Linked DNA regions of Homo sapiens: region 1 is linked to region 2. The links are contacts of gene promoters, found by promoter capture Hi-C in blood cells and fetal thymus (Javierre and others, 2016). All regions are on one chromosome and are shown on one strand. The core of a region is centred on a gene start or on the middle of the fragment in contact, and the rest is flanking DNA. Distances in the headings are between cores, read along the strand shown. Region 1 has its middle 14 kb from the start of ROPN1B. Region 2 holds the start of ROPN1 (rhophilin associated tail protein 1).

Region 1 (3,854 bases), core at 289-2,788, 2.0 Mb after region 2:
TCTCACTCAACTCTTCCCACTTCTATACTTTTCACCACTTTCATACTTTCTACTTCCTCCCTTCCTTCCACTGCTCTTGGAATGATGGCTTTTGAATTTTTTGCCTTCACCAAAACTGGATGACTTCTCCCTCTGCTGAAGGAGGGCGGGGGGCTGGGGGAAGTCGTGAAAGCCCCAAAATGCCATCTTTCGTCTCATTTTCTATTTCTAGCACATATTCTGTTTATAATTCTGCCTCCCTCATAGCAGATTGACACAGCACTCTGCTTAGTTCCCAGAATAAATGCAATTCAAGAATGAGAGGCAAATCCAGGCTCCCAGGATTCTTCTGCAGTCAGGCATTTGTTAGGGTTTTTTCTGCTAGCATTTGAGGAGTGTCTCTGCTGGTAGCCCTGCTTCTCTGAACCCATCTTCTACTGTCCTGAAAATGCCTTCCATACAGGATTTTCTTCATGGTAGATTTCCTTTCCTGATCATGTCTGGACTAAGCTTATATCAAAGGCAGTTTTTATTCCCCACACATACATTGACTGTGCCACAAAAGATATTTAAATATTTGTTGGATAAACAAATGAATACTAGCATATTAAATGATAAGTCATAACCTGAGTTTGTGGGAAGCCAATTTGGAATTATAGTTAATCCACAAAATAAAAAATACATGTAAAAATTTACATTTTCAAATTAAAAACCAATTTTATATGACATTCAATATCTCTGATGTCCTCATCACCAAATCATAAAACCTGACGGAAGGAGCAACATTTGCAGAGTAACTTCCACTTTAGGAATTGTGCTTTGCTTAAATAATTTTATTTATTCTACAACTTGTGAAATAGGTATTATTATCCCCCACTTTATAGGCAACAAAACTGAGACTCATGCAAGTTGTGTAGCTTAGCCTAGGTAACAGAAGAAGTAAGTGGCAAAAAATGAATTAGACCCAAGTTTATCTGACTTCAAAGCTCACTTTAAAAACCAAAAGAGGACGTGGGATCTTTGAACACGGCATCTGATGTAGCACATGCTGATGACTTCTGGTGCAGACTGTGTTCCCCTTGACTATTTCTTTCCTGCTTAGCACATAGTAGATGTTCAAACAAATAGTTGTTGAATTAAATTATTGAATGTACCATTTAGACTCAAAGTTCCTTAATCTGGTAGTATGCTAATATTCAGGGCTTGATATAGACACTTTAGAAGCAACCCAGCATCAAGTTTTGGAAGGTTATCCTGTGGAGATGCACAGGCCAATGTTCTCTGTCTTGTCTTCATCAGGGAAAACAGACATGGGATGATGACTTTACTAGGCAAGATGTAGGTATGAGCTAAGGGAAACATGGTAAAACACTGGATCAAGCTGCTGAGGAAGACAAAATATTTTGTCTGCAGATGCCCGTCACTCTCGGATAAGCCAGGCTTGAGTGGCTGCAGAGGCACCAGGAGCTGTTCTTCTGCATTTGTGGCAATAGTAAGAAAAAGTCTCCTAGCAGAAACTGACCTTGTTCTATAGCATCCTCTCCATGGTAATGTGGAGTTGTTAGTTCCCTTCATTGCTCTCTGATGCATAGCTTTAATTGTATCTTTGCTTTTATGTAGAGAATAGATTCATATTCCCCAGAGGATGGCTGGGAAAACCCACTGCTAGCCTCGAATACAAATAGGAGTCTGCAGAAGCTGCTGCTTCATGGGTGGGCACAGGGAAGAGGAGATGAAAGAGGACAACAACCTCCAAAGGTCTGAGGTTCAGGCATGGAGGCATCACAGTTCCTCTTGCCCTCTTCTAAGGAGTGAAAACAGGAGGAATTTTATTCAAAGGAAAATGAGAAAATTGCCTTCTGGGGGATGTTATGTGGTGCTGGAAAACTACCATCTCCCCAAAAAGCTGTTCCTCACCCATACAGGAGCTCCCATGGCTGAGGGACAGCTAATACCACTGTTGATATAATTATCTATTACCTTCCTCAATTTTTTATGCATGTTTCTCCATAATTGAGATCATACTGTATAAACATTTTGCAATCTGCCTTTTCCAGTTAACATTGTAGCTTGTAAGCATTTGAGGGGAGGATATTATAAAATCCAGCCATTTTACAGTTGAGGTGCCATCAGGCAGAAATAGCAGCAATGACAGGAACTCCTGGGCTGGCTCCCGGGAAGTCAAATAGTCCTATCCCACCCATGGTATGGTGCACCCATTTATACAACCTCATGAGGCAGTTGGCAGTAGTTGGCTCTGGGAGGAAGGATCAAGGGAGTTGTTGTTTTTTAAAAATCTCTCAATTTCTTATATTTTTCAAAATTTCATAATAAACCAGTGTCACTTTCACAGTCAGAAAAAAAATATTTTAAAGATGTTTCCTTCCTGCTGCCAAGAAAGCAGCAAGGCATTAGAATCTGAATCAAGGCAGAAGAGCAAGCTACCCAGGCTCATCTCACCATGCTTGAGGCTCCCCATCTATGGAATGGGGACAGTCACTCTGGACCTCCTAGAGTAGAGACTGTAACACTATCTGTCACATATGGAGAAGGTGATGTCACTCTAGGACAAGGTGAAGAGATGAGCAGCCCATGTTTGGGAGGTGCCCAAGCTTTGTGGTCCATAGCTGCCAACCCCTCCAAAGCCCCCCAAAGCCTCTCAGAGGAAGAACAGGAATTTGCCTTATTTATGATTATAACCTCCCAACTCAGCCATCATTCAGAACATATTGGAACCTTGGTATCTTCAGACTCTGAGAAAGGAGTTAAGCTACATTCTTTTCCCATTGCTTGCAAACAGGGCCAACTCATTCATTAGGCACAGGAGACACAGTAGCTAGGGACCAAAATACTGTTAGGGGTACACAAGATGTTTTAACATATTATATTCATGTGTTTGTCATTATTCCAAAACAGTCATAAAATATGATTTTTCATTTTTTTAATGGAGGAAAAGGTCCAAGAAGGCAAAAGCGCCTACTGCCCACAAAAATCACAACATGGCCCTGGTCACTTAGCCTATATTTCAGCTTCGTATTTTCTACGCCCTTCCATGAAATCATCAAGGTGGATTATGAACCAAAATGTCTACTATTCCTCTCTAATCATCTTCTTCATCATTCTGGTAAAGAGGAAACAGACTTTGGGTGTAGATTTTTGGCATGAAAATAACCAGAGCCATGAGATAAAACAGAGACCCTCACAGTAGAATTAGGCAGATGGAGACATATTTGGCAGAGAGCAGAAGAAACAACTTTTAAAAAAATTATTATTATACTTTAGGTTCTAGGGTACATGTGCAGAATGTGCAGGTTTGTCACATAGGTATACATGTGCCATGGTGATTTGCTGCACCCATCGACCTGTCATCTACATTAGGTATTTCTCCGAATGCTATCCCTCCCCTAGCCCCCCACCCCACAATAGGCCCCGGTGTGTGATGTTCCCCTCCCTGTGTCCATTCTCATTGTTCAACTCCCACTTATGATTGGTTTTCTGTTCTTGTGTTAGTTTGCTGAGAATGATGGTTTCCAGCTTCATCCACGTCCCTGCAAAGGACATGAACTTGTCCTTTTTTATGGCTGCATAGTATTCCATGAAGTATATGTGCCACATTTTCTTTACCAGTCTATCATTGATGGGCATTTGCGTTGGTTCTAAGTCTTTGCTATTGTGAACAGTGCTGCAATAAACATACATGTGCATGTGTCTCTATAGTAGAATGATTTATAATCCTTTGGGTATATACCCAGTAATGGGATTGCTGGGTCAAATAGTGTTTCTAGTTCTACATCCTTGAGGAATCACCACACTGTCTTCCACAATGATTGAACTAATTTACACTCCCACCAACAGTGTAAAAGCATTCCTATTCC
Region 2 (4,012 bases), core at 220-2,719:
AGTTATTTTCCATTTTTAAATCTCTTGATAGTGTAGGTCTTCTTCAATTATACATTCCAGAGCTTATCCATAACCCCAACTCTTTCAATTCAATGCATTTCCTCCTAAGTGAAACCTACATGCCTCTCAATGTAAAATGGAGGCCAACATATACCTGCCAAGTGCTGAAGAATGTAGGTCTTAAAATAGACTATAGCCTTGTTTCAGGGATCTCTCACTTGGTTTTATTGGTATGGGCTAAACAGGGCTTCCGTTTCATAAATGAAAGTCTCCAGTAACATGAATGAAAGGCTCCAGGGCAGAATCTCAGAGGGTTTCTATGAGTATCACTTGGAACCAAGCACAGGCAACTGCACATCCCTGTTTGGGTTTGGAATTGGAGATGGTGGGTTTGGGATGTGGTTACTCTTGTTTGGAATACATTCTCCTCCTCTTAACAGGTTGATTCTTCCTTTGGAGGTCTGCTTAACCTTCCCTGATTACCCTGTCAGTTCCATTGTACATACCCTTCCAGAGCATCACTTACCTATCCTTAGTGTGATTCTTTGAGTAACATGTGTCTCCCCCAGCAAACTCCACGGCAGGACTGGTCAGTTTTTGCTCACCACACCATCCCAGTGCCTAGCCCAGTGCCTGGAACTTAGTGTTCAATAGGTACTAGTAAAAATGAATGCGTGATAGCAGTCTATGAAGTGCTAGCTATAAAATGAACACGTGATAGGAGTCTATGAAGTGCTAGGTATAAAATAATGCGTGATAGGAGTCTATGAAGTGCTAGGTATAAAATAATATGTGATAGGAGTCTATGAAGTGCCAGGTATAAAATAATGCCTGACAGGAGTCTATGAAGTGCTAGGTATAAAATAATGTGTGATAGGAGTCTATGAAGTGCTAGGTATGCCCATGACATCCACATGACAATTCACCCAGAGGTATTTTTATATCCCTGTCGCTGATGAAAAAGCAGAGGTGTGGCTCCTCGGTGGAGGGCTCTGATTCCAAACTCTTGAGCCTCCCAACCACTGTCCTCCGGGTAAGAAACCGTATAATAGTATTCTGGGTACAAAATACGCACACAAATTGGCCAGAAAGCCATAATCCCCCACAGTCACATTCTCTTGAAGATCCCCTTGCCTTCCCCTTGCCCTGTGAACAAGGAGAGGCTCAGAATCCAGGGGGCGTCCGGCAGGGCTCCTCCCTCAGACCAGCGCAGCCCTCGGGGCGCTCAGAGCCCTGCCCTCCCTCCACTTCCCCTCGGGGTGGCTACCTCAGGCTCGCTCCCAAACCGGCTGTCTGGCTTCAGGCGACACCTGGCGCCTGGCCTCAGGCGAGAGGTGTGGGGAGAGACCGAGTGCCTCCCACCCTTCTTAAGAAGGAGAGCAGTAGAACCTCGGCGGGGAGGGCAGCAGCGGCCGGGGGTGACAGCAGCGGCGGGGCACGACCGCCGTTAGCGTTAGACGTTAGCGCTCCGCCTTCGCCTGGCAAACCCTGCGCGGGCTCCGCTGCCAGGTCACCAGGGGTAGCGCCGGGCGCGACGTCACAGAGCCGCCCCGCCTCTCCTGCAGCGGCGGGTTCCCAGGGTCCCGCTAGGGCGCTGCTAGGGGACGCTGAAAGCTGTTTTGGGCTTTGCTGGTGGTGGAAGGACCAGACGGCCTGGAGGGTTAAGGACTGGGCTGGGGACGTTAGGAAACCCGGGCTGGGGGCGTTGGGGGTGGGGCGGAATGTGTAGCCATTGACGGTGCGCTTTTGTAGGTGAGAGGGCAGAAGTGGAGCTTGATCTTTCGGCTTGTGGAAAGTGGACAGGTGAGAATTCCTCAGGAATCATAGTAACAACACTTCTTACAATGAGTTTTTGGTGCCAGGAATTGTTCTAAGTGCATTACACACATGAACTCATTTCATCCTTACTGTCACCCCATGAGGCAAGTACTATTGTTATCCCCATTTTTACAGATGAGGGAACTGAGCACAGAGAGGTTAAACTTGTCCAAGATGACAGTCAGCAAGTGACAGAGTCAGGATCTGAATCTGGGTTGCGTGGTCCCAGATTCCTCACTCTTGACCTTATAATGCTAAGAAAGGGGCATGGAGTGGATAGGAACAGAGCCTGAGATGCCTGGGGACAACAGGGAAAGATAGAAAATATTTATAGGGTAGAATGTGGTCACTGTGCCAGGGCACTTTTACAAACATGATGACATCAAAGTTTCACAGTAAACTCTGAAGGTAGGTATTACCTTCGCTTTGGAAATAAAAAACAGGCTCAAGGCTTCGAGTAATTTTGCCTGTGATCGAACAGCTGGCAGTAGGGCTCAGGGCCCAACTTTACTCCAGGTCTTCCGGTTTCAAGACTGTGTGTGTGTGTGTGTGTGTGTGTGTGTGTGTGTGTGTGTGTGTGTGTGTGTTTTGAGACAGGGTCTTGCTCTGTTGCCCAGGCTGGAGTGCAATGGGGTAATCATGACTCACTGCAGCCTCAATCTCCTAGGTCTAAGCAATCCTCCCACCTCAGCCTCCCAAGTAGCTGAGACTGCAGGTGCTTGCCACGATGACAGGCTAATTTTTATATTTTTATAAACGGGGTTTTGCCATGTTGCCCAGGCTGGTCTTGAATCCCTGGGCTCAAGTGATCCACCTGCCTTGGTCTCCCAAAGTATTGGGATTACAGGTTTGAGCTACCGCACCTGGTCTCAAGACTGTTCGTTTTAAGCACCCAAGGAGGCAAGAAAAGCCCCATCTTTCTCTGCTACATCCCGTGTCACTTCACACCTATTTTAAAGGGGCCCATTGCATCATCTAATCCTTCATTCCATTTATACAACAGTGTGTATTAGTCTAAATAGATTAGTTCACCCAGGCCCTTCAAAGCTTTCTCTGTTTGTGAGATGAAAGCCTTTGTCTCTCCCTAAAGCAATTTTAAGCATCAGTGAACAAGTGGGGGAACTAGATTTTTGGGTTACGCATGCAGAAAGCTTTTCACAGCCTGTTGTCATCCATTTGTAAAGAGGCCACTCTGCTGGCATTTGTCAAAATCCTGTAGGTCCTTGCACACCTGGAGAATCCTGGATGGTCTGGGGATGGCCACTGCCCACAGGGCAAGATCTGGGGATGAAAGAAACCTAGTCACTAGCTATCACCTGCCTTTCTGAGGCCTCTGTGGAGGGGCTGCCAGGTGTTGGTATAGGCACTTGACAAACAGGGTGTGCCTTAGGTTGGGAGGGGGAGGCTGGAGGCTTGAGGGCTGCAGGTGCATCTTCCAGGATAACAAGAATGCTCTGGCCACTGGGGTCTGTTCTGTTGTATGCACATGGGATAAAGGTGTGCCAATCTCTTCCTGCTTTCATGCAGAGTAAATAATGCTGACAGGAGTGAATAATAATGATCTTTGTGCAGAAGAAGGGGTTTTTCAGACAAAGCACTAGCAGCTAGAGATGGGAGATGAAACAGAATAGAATTTTAGTGTAGCAAGTTAAACACAAGGGAGGAATTTCATGGGACTGTCTGACTGAGGCGATTTGATGTCTGTCTGTAGGAGGCCAGGTTGAGAGGCCTAGGTTAGATTATCCTTGATCTGTTAGTCAATAAATATAACAGGATACAGTCAAGAGAATACAATTTTACAGGAAAATGATAATAACATAATTCAGGAAAGTTGCTTTCTTCTAAAACAGAGGTAAGAGTAGAGAGGGAGGAGCACATAGATGTTACTGGTAGTGGTCTAGTTTTGGGGTGGGTGATGGGTTCATGGGTGTTTATTATGTTTCAGTAAAAAATCTGTCTTAAATATTACAATAAAATCTTTTATTACATACAATCTTTTATCAAGTAGGTTACACTGTTTTCTGCTATTTTCTTGTACGAACGAATATTGACTATATCCTTTCTCATCATTTCCCTTTTTCTACTAGATAATTCCCATCAACATAAAAACATGCCTTCATCATTTTCCTCTTCAGCTTTGACCATTTTCTCTGCTTCCCTTTATTGCCAAGCTCTTTAAAAGAGTTGCCTATAC

Evidence for each region. Contacts are between HindIII fragments. The CHiCAGO score rates a contact against its expected background, and 5 or more counts as called.
Region 1: a contact is called between a fragment that was not itself captured here and the fragment with the promoter of ROPN1 in region 2, in 5 of 17 cell types (fetal thymus, endothelial precursors, neutrophils and 2 more). The highest score is 14.8, in fetal thymus.

The regions. Positions count from the first base shown.
Region 1 is chr3:125,953,656-125,957,509 of GRCh38, forward strand. It overlaps the pseudogene ALG1L1P. Among named protein-coding and RNA genes, the nearest start is that of ROPN1B, 14 kb to the right of the region's middle. The HindIII fragment of the contact is 2,102 bases long and covers 488-2,589 here.
Region 2 is chr3:123,990,655-123,994,666 of GRCh38, forward strand. It overlaps ROPN1 (rhophilin associated tail protein 1), which reads right to left and starts at 1,470. Exons shown (of 6, transcript NM_001317774.2): 1 at 1,268-1,470. RefSeq lists an enhancer at 1,242-1,758. The HindIII fragment of the contact is 3,137 bases long and covers 1-2,863 here.